3 separate regions of the Homo sapiens genome follow, and regions 1 and 2 are each linked to region 3. The links are contacts of gene promoters, found by promoter capture Hi-C in blood cells and fetal thymus (Javierre and others, 2016). All regions are on one chromosome and are shown on one strand. The core of a region is centred on a gene start or on the middle of the fragment in contact, and the rest is flanking DNA. Distances in the headings are between cores, read along the strand shown. Region 1 overlaps UBR2 (ubiquitin protein ligase E3 component n-recognin 2). Region 2 holds the start of PRPH2 (peripherin 2). Region 3 holds the start of PTK7 (protein tyrosine kinase 7 (inactive)).

Region 1 (4,066 bases), core at 1,003-3,502, 420 kb before region 3:
ATTACATTTTGGTACATACCTCCTAATTGCCTTCCCAAAAAAGTCCTCGATTTACACTCTGACTAGAAGTGTATAAAGAGTGCCCTGCAACTTTGTCAACACTTTAATATGAGCAGTCTTTTAGTACCTTATTTTAATTTGCGTTACTCTAAGTGAAGTTGAGCTTCTTTTCATGTGTTTATTGGCCGTTTATTTTTTCATACTTTAATGCATTTTTCTTTATGGTTGTTTGTCCCTATCTTATTGTTCCGAAAGTATTATATATTAGAAATGTCAATTCTTATTTAATACATCACAGTACTTTCTTCCAGTCTCCCTTGTTTTTTAACTTTCTGTTTTTAAAACTCTGTCTCAATTGGCTTCTGGGTTTTATAACTTGCTTAGGAAAGTTCTCTAAACCCCAATAGTGTACCTGCTTTTTTCTGCTTAATAGAACAACACGGAAGTCTTTACATGTGAAAATAGAGAAATTATCACTGTTAATGGTGTTCAGTTGTTTGGAGATGTTGTAATTTGTTATTTCACGTTATTAGACTTTTTAATTGTTGCCACTGCAGTGTCCATCACGTTCACTTGTCTAGTTAGGATAAATTCCAAGTGGGCATGCTAAATAAAACAGATGCATGTAGAACTCGGATTTAGACTGCCAAATCAACCCACTGAAAATAGTTGTAGCTTAACACCCACCAGCAGTATATGAGAGCTCTGCTTTCTTGTTCTAATATCCAAGACTATCTCTCATAAATTAGTGTATGGCTTTGGTAATAATATTCTAAGGTCCTTTCTTTCACAGGAAACCTGGATTAACAGGACGAGGCATGTATGAACTGAAACCAGAATGTGCCAAAGAGTTCAACTTGTATTTCTATCACTTTTCAAGGGCAGAACAGTCCAAGGTAATTGGGAAAATTAAAAATGTAGCAGGGAAGGATTGCATTGTTTTTCTTAAGAGATGAGGTTTCACCATGTTGCCCAGGCTAGAGTTTGGTGGCTATTCACAATGCCATTATAGAGCATTGCAACCTCAAACTCCTGGGCTCAAGCAATTCTCCCACCTCAGCCTCTTGAGTAGATGAGATTACAGGCATGCACCACTGTATCTGGCTTGAATTTTTTTTTCCTAAACAACTTTTTTACTGCTTTTGCAGATTGAAAAATGATACATTTTTATTGTAGGGGATTTGGAAAATATAAAATATAAAGAAGAAAGTAGAAATTACTTAAAATACCCTCACCTAACATTTTGGAGTTACCCCCTAGCGTTTTGTACATATGTATATACGATCTATATAATACATACCTTTACGTATATGGGTATAGTTTTTTAAAACAAATTTTCAACCTGTATTATAATCAGTTAATCCATTTTATGCACATTTCAGAATTGGTATTATTTAACACTTTTTCATAGAGATTCATGGAGCTTTTCTAATCATTCCTAGGTAATTAAATTTTGCCTTTTTGGTGGGGCATGTAATCCCAGCACTTTGGGAGGCTGAGGCGGGCAGATCGCTTGAGCTCAGGAGTTCGAGATCAGCCTGGCCAACATGTTGAAATCCCATGTCTACTAAAAATACAAAAATTAGCCAGGCATGGTGTCATGCACTTCTCGTCCCAGCTACTCAGGAGGCTGAGATAGGAGGATCACTTGAGCCCAGGAGGTCAAGACTGCAGTGAGCTATGATTGCACCACTGCATTCCAGCTTGGATGATGGGAGTGAGACCGTATCTCAAAAAAAAAAAAAAAATCTGCCTTTTAGCAGTCTCCTCTTAAAATGGTTTTTCAATAAACAGCATTAAATAAAACTTAAACATAAAGCTTTTATTTAGTTTTTGATGAAGTCATAGAGTTCAAACTTAAATAAGTTTGTACTTATTTAAGTACATGTTTCCCTTCTAATTTAAAGTAATAGAGAACTCGTTTGGAGATTCTTTTAGTTAAAAAAAAAAATTAACCTTGATGTATCCGTTTGGGGGAGGACTAGAACTTAAAGATAGATATCTTTTTTATTTTTTATTTTTTTTGAGATAGGGTCTCACTCTGTTACCCAGGCTGGAGTGCAGACCTCGGCTCACTAGAGCCCCTGCCTCCCAGGTTCAAGCAATTATCCTGCCCCAGCCTTCTGAGTAGCTAGGATTACAGGTGTGTGCCACCACGCCCAGCCAATTTTTGTATTTTTAGTAGAGATGGGGATTCTCCGCGTTGGCCAGGCTGCTCTCGAACTCCTGACCTCAGGTGATCCACCTGTCTTGGCCTCCCAAAGTGCTGGGATTACAGGTGTGAGCTGCCACGCCCCGGCCTCTGTTGTGTTATTTTCTGATTTTAGATGTTCATCCTTGGCCAGACACATTGGCTCATGCCTGTAATCCCAGCACTTTGGGAGGTTGAGGTGGGCAGATCACAAGGTCAGGAGTTCAAGACCAGCCTGGCCAACATAGTGAAACCCCACCTCTACTAAAAATATAAAAATTAACCAGGTGTGGTGGTGGGCATTACTAATTCCCGGTCCAAATAACTTTATTTTTTATTAGGCAGAAGAAGCGCAACGGAAATTGAAAAGACAAAATAGAGAAGATACAGGTATTTTTAATCTTTCTGAAAATGTCTTGCCCATCTTTTTTGCTTGTTAAACATTGTTTTCTGTTAACTATGATGATTGTCCTTGGTGGAATGAATATTTAAATGTAAGCTTTCCTAGTGAATAACCTCCTATTCAGAGGAATAATAAATATGTTAACACAGAAATAGTTTGTGCTAAGTCCTCTGGGTTGATGTTATCTCAGATCTTAAGACCTTTCTAGGGGAAAAGATAGACTTTCTTCTGTACTGCTGCTACTTTCGTGGCTCTTTTTATGCATTTGACCTTGAGAATGTAAAATAATAGCTTTAAGGTGTGTGTTAATGAATATTCTTTGAGTTAAAACTATCAAAAGTAACAAAGAGATAGTTTCTAAAGCATGTTCTGTAAAAGAAACCAATAATAACAACTGTATTTTCAGCACTCCCACCTCCGGTGTTGCCTCCATTCTGCCCTCTGTTTGCAAGCCTGGTTAACATTTTGCAGTCAGATGTCATGTTGTGCATCATGGGAACAATTCTGCAATGGGCTGTGGAACATAATGGATATGCCTGGTCAGAGTCCATGCTGCAAAGGGTAGGTTTGAAGACATTTATTATTTATATTTTAGTATTTTATAGTACAAGCAAAATATTCTTGTCTGTATCTATACACAGGAAAACTAGGCCGAAATGTATTGTGTTTTCCTAACTTGAATATATTGTTACTGCTTTTGTGTCTGACAGTAAAAACAAGTGCCAGACAGATTTTTTTATACCACATGGTTGTTATTACCTCAGTCCCACTGGGCAGTTGTTCTCTCCTAGATTGGTCCTTGTCTTTATATATGTAGTATTCTGATATTGATATAATGTGTTATCTTTTATATATGTTTCTAATCTAATTATTTTCCAAAACAAAAATTTTTTTTGAATCATCCATATCCTTATTTTGTAGTTGAAGAAACTGACACTCATAGACTTACGGTCCTATAGCTAGTTAAGTGGCAAGTCTGGAACCTTGTTTGTGTTATTTTTGTTTTTGTGTTTTTGAGACAGGATCTAGCTTTGTCACCCAGGAAGCTGGAGTGCAGTGGTGCAATCTTGGCTCACTGCAACCTCTGCCTCCTGGGTTCAAGTGATCCCGCCACCTCAGTATCCCAAGTACCTGGGATTACAGGCATGCATCACAACATCTGCGTAATTTCTGTATTTTTGGTAGAAACAGTTTTGCCATGTTCCCCAGGCTGGTCTCAAACTCCCAGACTCAAGCAATCCTCCCCCCTCGGCCTCCCCAAGTATTGGGATTACATGCGTGAGCCACTATGCCCAGCCCCTTGTTTGTATTTTACTTTATAGTTTTAATGTAAGCCGTTCGTACACTATCTCATTGAATTCACACAACACCCCATGAATAGATACAACTTTTTTCTCATTGTTAGATGAGGAAGCCAAGTTTCAATGAGGTTCCATTAACTTCCCATATTAATCTACTAAGTGATATAACAA
Region 2 (3,687 bases), core at 682-3,181, 350 kb before region 3:
TGAGTTCAAGTTCCCTTTGGACTTGCCAGCCTCACTGGGAAGAAAAAAAAACCACCCTTAGGAATAACTGAACCCCTAACCTCAGCCAGGTAGGGTCGAGTCAGACAGAAAGAAGAGGTGAGGGAAAGCGGCTGCCTCAAGGCAGGCTGCCCTTTCCCTGAAAAGTCACTCGAGCCCCAGGTTGGTGGGTGTGTTGGGAAGAGCAGCCCGCTGGAGCCAGTGCACAGGCTGTTCCCTCCGACACAGTGGTCGAGAGTCTCTCTCTCACCAGCACCTCCCACAGCCCATCGCAGCATTTTACTTTTACATATGCCAAGAATACTTTAGAAATGCTTTATCACATTGCACTATCATGACTCGCTAAGTAAACACCAGCAAGCATTTAATGAGTACCTGCTGCATGCCAGCTACCAGGCAGGGCTAGGAGGTGACTTCCAAAATTACCTATTCTATTCCAGTGCTCATTTAAAAGATGGGCAAGCCAAAGCGCAGAGTGACTAGTGACCTGCCCAAGGTCACAAGACCTTGAACAACAGAACCAAAACTTCACCCTAGATCTCATGACTTCCCCTTCCTATGCTCTTTCCAACATATCCAGACAAACATCTTGGGAATGGATGCTCAGGGTTGAAAGGTTGGAAAACAAGGGAACTAACTAGGAAATTTAAACTTCTGGGACTGAATCCATCTACTTTGAATGAATGGGACAAATAGCCAAATAGTACCTCAGTGTTTGTGATCTATGAATGACTTCCATCCCTCTGTATAAAGTGGACACACATTGCTGCCTGGCTCTTCATCCCAAGGGGCTCCTATCCAAACAGCTTATATAAATTGATACCTTCCTACCACCTTAGCCAATGTTAGGTTGAACCCTATGAAGTTGTCATTTTTTATGGGTCAAAGAGGTAGAATATTAGCAATTTCATATGGTTCCACCTGATACACCCTCACATACGCAGCAATAAGTTGTGCACCCGATGGAGAGGAAAAGGCACTGGGTGCGGGGAGAGGGGCTGGTCAGAGGCCTGAGCCTCAGTGTCCCCAATATATTCATAGCTCTGACCCCAGGACTGGAAGCCACTCACTCTTTGACTTCTTTGGAGGAAAAGTCCAGGTAGCGATTGCTGATCCACTGAATCTCAAACCAGTCCCGAAAACCGTTGTTGCCGCAGCATTTGAACTCGATCTGCAGCATGTCGATGGTCTTCTTCATGAAACACCTGCCAGGGGTGTCTGTGTCCCGGTAGTACTTCATGCCGTTCTTGAGCCCTTGGCCCAGGGTGTTCTCCAGCGAGCCCCGAAGCAGAAAGCAGCAGAGAGCCACAAGGAAGAGGATGATGTTGAAGAGAACACAGATAGCCAGGTACGGCTTCAGCCAGGGCTTCCATCTGGCATACTTGGCTGGGTCCAGGGCGTCGTAGCAGATCTTCCCAGCCAGCGAGTTGAAGACACAGGATAGCACCCCCATCCCTATCAATGAGTTGGGCACAAAATGGCTCTCAGAATTATTCATCACATCGCTCCTCTTTCGGAGTTCAATCTTCAGGAACAGTCCTAGGCTGAAGATGATGATGCCAGCCAACACGGAGAACCAGTTCATGAGCCAGAGCCCTTGGGCCAACTTGACCCGCTTCTTCTGGTCAAACTTGACTTTCAGTAGCGCCATGCTTGCCAAGTGTAGTCCGGGTTGCTTCCCACAGCACAGCTCCCACCCCAAACCTTAACGAGCCCAGAGGCGGAGACTTAGGGCCTTGGGAAAAGTGCAGATGGCCCAAGCTGTAGGGAGCTGCCCTGGGGGCTACCCATGTCGAGTCCCACTAGCCTGGGATCCCCGTGAATGCAGTAGTGGTGGCAGGGGTCTCGGAATCACAGCTTGAGCAGGGGATAGTCCTGGTCCTGGGCGTTGTTTCTTCAGCGCCCTTCCCAGCCAAGAAGGGGCAGCCTGAACGCTGCAGATTAAAAGTGGGATCCACAAGACATTTTGCTAATCTCTTTAGCCAGGTTCATCCCATTAGATAAAGCCATGCCACTCTCAAAACATGGTCAAAAGCAGCCTCCAGGTACATGCTGAACCAGAAAGCTCTGGGTACAGCTTGGAGAATCAGGAGCAAAGGGCAAGACTGGCCAGAAGAATGGGCTGTATCTGGATGTCTGGCTCAGACCGTGTTGCTCCCCAAAAGCATATTTCCAGGCCAATCTCCTTCAACATTTAAAACTTTCTGTAGGACAAATAAATTGTTATCCTCTCTGAGAAAAGAAATGACAGGGCCAGGCACAGTGGATCACGCCTATAATCCCAGCACTTTGGGAGACCAAGTTGGGTGGATCACTTGAGCCCAGGAGTTCAAGACCAGCCTGGGCTACATAGGAAGACCCCATCTCCACACACACACACACACACACAAAAAAAAAAAAAAAAAAATTAGCTGGGTATGGTGGCATGCACCTGTAGTTCTCCCAGCTACTCTGGAGGCTGAGGTGGCAAGATCACCTGAGCCTGGGGAGTTCAAGGCTGCACTGAGCCATGATCGTGCCACTGCACTCCAGCCTGGGTGACAGAGTGAGGCCCTGTCTCAAATTTTAAAAAGACAAAGAAAAGAAGAGAAGAAGGAAGGAAAGAAAGAAAGTGACAGATCGTGAGAAAACATTTGCAACTTGTAAAATTAAAAAGTAATATACAGTGGCCAGGCATGGTGGCTTATGCCTGTAATCCCAGTACTTTGGGAGGCCAAGGCAGGTGGATCGCTTGAGCCCAGGAGGTGGAGGTTGCACTGAACTGAGATCCCCACATTGCACTCCAGCCTGGGTGACAGTGAGACTCTGTCTGGAAAAAAAAAAAAAAGAATTAATATGCAAAAATGTTTTAAGTCTCACAAATTCACAATAAACAAAAATTCACAATCAAAAGACCAATAATCAACTGGAAAAATAGGCAAAAACCAGGAACAGACAATTCATAATTAGGAAACTTGAAAAGTCCAATAATCTGGAAAAGATCTCAACTTGGGTAATAAGCAGGAAAATGCAAATCCAAACAACAATAAAATACCAAACTTGGCCGGGCACAGTGGTTCACACCTGTAATCCCAGCAGTTTGGAAGGCCAAGGTGGGTGGATCACTTGAGGTCAGGCATTCAAGACCAGCCTGGCCAACATGGTGAAACCCTGTCTCTACTAAAAATACAAAAATTGTCTGGGTATGGTGACAGGCACCTGTAATCCCAGTTACTTGTGAGGCTGAGGAAGGAGCATCAATTGAACCCGGGAAGTGGAGGTTGCAGTGAGCCAAGATTGCGCCATTGCACTCCAGCCTGGGTGACAAGAGTGAAATGACGTCTCAAAAAAAGAAAAAGACCAAACTCGATCCATCAAATTGAATGTATGTCAAAATTCTGTCACCATACATCAACAAAGAGAGTGGAAGTAGAAGTGTACACTCTTGGTGAATCTGTACATTTATTATTATTATTAATTAATGGATTATTTCTTACAGTAGTTTTAGGTTTACAAAAAAATTGAACAGAAAATACAGGGAGTTCCCATTATTCTCCATCTCCCCAACCAGTTTCTCCTCTAATTAATATCTTGCATTAATGTGGTACATTTGTTACAATTAATGAACCAATATTGATGCACTATTATTAACTAAAGTCTATAGTTTACATTAAGGTTCAGTCTTTGTGC
Region 3 (4,218 bases), core at 1,119-3,618:
CTAGTGCAGCACCCCTCCAGGTGAGAGCAGTGCTTGTGAGCATATTGGTGGGTGAGGAAAAAAGGACAGCCAGTGAGCAAGCCCAGTGGAGTAAGGGAAGAGGGAAGGGAGAGGAGTCATCTGGGATGAAGATGAGCCAGGGGATTGCAGTCATTAAGGAATCAGGCAGATAGCTTGTGGTGAGTGCTGACCACCAAGGGACAGTTTCAGGCCAGACATAGTAGCAAATAAGTTAATAAGGAGGGAAATAGGAATATTCTGTAAACTGGTACTTTGGAATTATGAATAATTTAAGAATTATTTGGAGATACGAATTATTTTTTCATCCTGCAGCCGCCTTAGTAGTAGATGAGAATGGAAAAAGAAAAGTATTAAATAATCCCCATCTGAGAAAACACTAGTGATATTTTAATGGCAAATGACTTCTTGTATCAACACACAAGTATATGCCAGTATTCATGTGGTTCTTCCAGGTAGCTTCTCCACCAGATTGTGGCCTTCTGGAAAACCCTAGCAGAGGCTAAACAAAGTCCCAGGTCCAGAGATAGACTGGTCCAGAGACAGATGTGATCCTAGGTCCAGAGATACACTGTGACCATGGGATGGATGGACTCTAGGAGCCAGTCTTTGGGAGGCCGAGGTCCCTGAGCTGATGGGGTAGTGTTGTCTGTTTCAGGTCTCCCGGGGCCTCAGTGCCAGCACCATGGACCTCTCTTCAAGCAGCTGACATTCAACCCGGCCCCCAGGTCTGCTGGGTCCCCCCACCCCCACAGCCCTCACAGCATTCCCCATTGCTCCTGGCTCTTCCCCACCCCTAGGTGGGACAGTGAAGGGGAGCAGTTTAACCAGAAGATTGCTGCTGCCCTTAGGGTCTCAGCTCCCTCCTCAGGAATCCCTCTTAGGAAGGACCCTCAGGACACCCTCTCTGCACCCTGTGGTCCTCTAGAGTAGCTAGCTCTGAGGCCCCAAGGTGGGTACAAAGCAGGTATGGCCCTCAGAGATGCAGCCTGCTGCTGGCTTTTCAGTCAGAGGGTTGGGGGCTGGCCAGCCAAGCTGCCTTGCCCTGGCCGCTCTTACTCCCTCCCTCTGCTGTCTCACTTCAGGTCCATGTATTTCACTTTTCTTAAATAAAAGAATCAGGTAACCTTTCTGTGACTTGAGTCCTGATTGAAGAGGGTATGAAGCAGGGCTTGTGTTGGGGCCCTTCACAGAAGGTGAGGGGCAGTGATGGATGGAGCAGCAGGAGGAGTGTTGATTCTTGGATCTCTCCTCTCTTCCTCCCGTTGTTTGTATCATCTCCAGCAGGGCCTGTAGGAAGGCATCTGGGGGATGGGGAAGAAGGAGGCTCACAACCCAAGGAGAAGGTGCTGTGGACTGGGTTGTCAGGGACATGTGGTGGCCATGTGGCAGGACCCTGGAGTCCTGGCGCCACTTCTCCTGGCTGTGAGGCCCTCTGTGGCTGCCATTCCTCCTCCCAGCTGCTTGGGGGAAGGGAGGTCTAAACAGGCCTGGGGGGCCCTCCGGAACCAGAGGGGAGACAAGGCACTATCCATCCCCTCTCAGCATATCTTGGAGGCCTGAGCAGCAGCTGGGGCCCATCTTCTAAAGCTTGACTCCTCCTGACCCGCCTCCTACACCCCTTGCTGCTTTCACAACAAAGAAAGAATGTGGGGGTGGTGGCGCTGGGGGTGGGGGTGCCTGGAACAAGGGTTGTGCTGGGCCTCCCCACAGCTGGAGACTTGGCCATACCCTGACACAGCCCAGACTGCCTGGAGATGGACTTGGGATGAATTTGTCAGTTAGCAGACTTCAGCCTGGCTTTCAGAGCCCAGCGTGTTTCTACCTTTGGGTTCAGATTGGTCTACAGCCAAACCAGACCCCAGTCATGCACACTTCAGCCCCTCTCCGGGCTACACAGCATCTTCAGGTTACTTGGGGACATTAAGGACACCCTGCTGTTCTGGGTCTGCCGTTAAGATTTTGGGTTGCTGAAGAGTTGGCGGGGCCCGCCTCTTCCCCTGCCCCCACCTGGAGAATTCTGGGGGAACTGTTGGCCAGAGCCTCCAGGTATGCCCAGAATGGACCATTCTCCCCAGGGTCCACGGAATCGCACAAGTCACTTAGGTTCTCCCGGATCCCTGCAGAGTCGGTGGTGGGTACAGCAAATACTCAGGTCCCCTGCACTTCCCTGAGCCTTGCTCTCTCTATTCTCCATCCCTCTCCAGACCCCTCCCCCTACTGAGCTCCTCCCCGCCTCGGCGAGGAGGGGGCGTCGAGGGGGCGGGGCGCCGTGCGGGGGCCGGAGGGGAGGGGGCGTCGTGGGGCGGGGCTTGGCGGCGGCGGCGGCGGCGCGCGGGGACTCGGAGGTACTGGGCGCGCGCGGCTCCGGCTCGGGACGCCTCGGGACGCCTCGGGGTCGGGCTCCGGCTGCGGCTGCTGCTGCGGCGCCCGCGCTCCGGTGCGCTCCGCCTCCTGTGCCCGCCGCGGAGCGCAGTCTGCGCGCCCGCCGTGCGCCCTCAGCTCCTTTTCCTGAGCCCGCCGCGATGGGAGCTGCGCGGGGATCCCCGGCCAGACCCCGCCGGTTGCCTCTGCTCAGCGTCCTGCTGCTGCCGCTGCTGGGCGGTGAGTACCCGAGAGTTGGGGGCACAGAGCTTGGGAAGCGCGGGAGTCCCGTGGGCAAAAGGCTGCGCCCGGGGCGGTGGGTTTGGGCGGCTGGAACGGCCCTGGAGTAGTGGAGAGGCTCGCTGGGGGTGCAGGCTTGCGGCGGAAGGGCGCAAGGAGCCCGGGTGTCGGGAGGCTGGCGAAGCCTCCAGGGACGCGGTCAGGGTACCCCTCCCACTCGCGCCGCGGGGACGCATTTCCAGCCTCCCTGAGTTTTTCTGGTCTGAGCCGAGAGTTTGCTCGAGAACTGCCGAGAGTTGCTGGCTCTCGGGCCCAGATGGGGAGTTTCTTGTCGGGGGAGAAAAGACCATCCGCACCCACCGTGGGGAGCGCGATGGAGAAAAAGGAATTCCCCACCCCACCCGGCAGGGTCGGCCCAGGTAAGAGTTGCTGGTTTGGGGCCCGATGCCGGACAGACCTGCGGCGCGCAAAGCGCGGAGCTTTGTTACCTACGCCGACCCGACGTTCCCGGCTTCCCTCCTCCGAGTTCCTGGGCAAAGCTGAGACCCCAGATGGCCCTGCGGGTGAGGGCGGAAGAAGGGAAGAGTTAGGGGCCGCCCCCATCCATGGCCTCTAGCTACTGGTCTGGAACCCTGCGCCCACTCCGTGCCAGGGCCGAATCCGGGGATCCGAGGGTCCCAGGCTGTCGCGGTGACTAATGTGTGAAGGCCGCTGCCAAAATCGGGCATGGCCTGGCTGCAAAGGTGCGGACGGGGTTTGTTCTGCTCCTTCCTGGATTTCCATCCTGACTGTCCTCACAGAGGAAAGGAAGTATTTCTAAGGGAAGAAAGGCAAAAAGAGCTCATTCTGGCTTTTCTTGGGGGGGGGCCTTAGCATTTTAACGAGGGTGTGGCCCTCATCACCAGGGCAGACAGCACCGCCCCCCCAACTCCCGCAGCTTTTATTTCCTGGCTTGGTCACACCTAAGAGTCATCACTGAGGTGTTGAAGTGCCTTACAGGAAAGCACCAAGCCACCCGCACATCCCAAATAGCCCGGACTGGAAATAAAGCCCCCGACCCTCCACAACACTCCTTGGTGGTCCTCGAAGCAGCTTTCTCTTGGGGAGCTCTGTCGAGGAGACCTGTCCTAGGTGATCACCTTCCATCTCCTTTGAAGGTGGCAATGGGAAGGGCATGGGTAAGGAATTGCCTTTCTAATATCTTTCTGGCCTGCCAGCTGTGGAGGGGTTTTGGTGCTGGTGGAATCAACATCTCCCCTGCCCCCAGTTGTAAAAGGAGAGGTAAATGTAACCCAGGAAAGAGACCAATCTCCAGGGATTTGGAGGAGGTGTTTCTGGAGTTGCCCCGTTTTTCTTGTGATGTGTGTGGTGGTTATTGCTCGTGGCAGAATCCACATCTGCTCCCAGAGGAAGTATGGAAGTTTTTTTGCACAGCCAGGATGGGGGCCCAGCCATCTGGGCGAGCAGCCCAAGCTCACAGGCCCCCTGGCTGTCCTGGTTGGGTTTTGGTGTGTGGGTCTGCCCAATGAGGCTGCCTTCACTGCTGCTGTTCAGGGTACTAGAGTCAAGGGGAGTTTCTGGTGAAGATGGGGCTCT

What was found. Contacts are between HindIII fragments. The CHiCAGO score rates a contact against its expected background, and 5 or more counts as called.
Region 1: a fragment that was not itself captured here is called in contact with the fragment with the promoter of PTK7 in region 3 in 1 of 17 cell types (naive CD4 T cells); the score reaches 5.8 in naive CD4 T cells.
Region 2: a contact is called between the fragment with the promoter of PRPH2 here and the fragment with the promoter of PTK7 in region 3, in 1 of 17 cell types (neutrophils). The highest score is 6.9, in neutrophils.

Annotation. Positions count from the first base shown.
Region 1 is chr6:42,649,491-42,653,556 of GRCh38, forward strand. It overlaps UBR2 (ubiquitin protein ligase E3 component n-recognin 2), which reads left to right. Exons shown (of 47, transcript NM_001363705.2): 23 at 794-896; 24 at 2,533-2,581; 25 at 3,001-3,155. Among named protein-coding and RNA genes, the nearest start is that of PRPH2, 71 kb to the right of the region's middle. The HindIII fragment of the contact is 871 bases long and covers 1,818-2,688 here.
Region 2 is chr6:42,720,666-42,724,352 of GRCh38, forward strand. PRPH2 (peripherin 2) reads right to left here and starts at 1,932. Exons shown (of 3, transcript NM_000322.5): 1 at 1,089-1,932. The coding sequence starts at 1,669. The HindIII fragment of the contact is 19,648 bases long and covers 1-3,687 here.
Region 3 is chr6:43,073,946-43,078,163 of GRCh38, forward strand. PTK7 (protein tyrosine kinase 7 (inactive)) reads left to right here and starts at 2,369. Exons shown (of 20, transcript NM_002821.5): 1 at 2,369-2,622. The coding sequence starts at 2,544. KLC4 (kinesin light chain 4) reads left to right here. Exons shown (of 16, transcript NM_201521.3): 15 at 1-20; 16 at 677-1,148. The coding sequence ends at 727. It overlaps KLC4-AS1 (KLC4 antisense RNA 1), which reads right to left and starts at 2,285. Exons shown (of 2, transcript XR_002956347.1): 1 at 1,750-2,285; 2 at 388-1,322. RefSeq lists an enhancer at 1,504-2,027 and a silencer at 2,357-2,456. The HindIII fragment of the contact is 8,069 bases long and covers 1,607-4,218 here.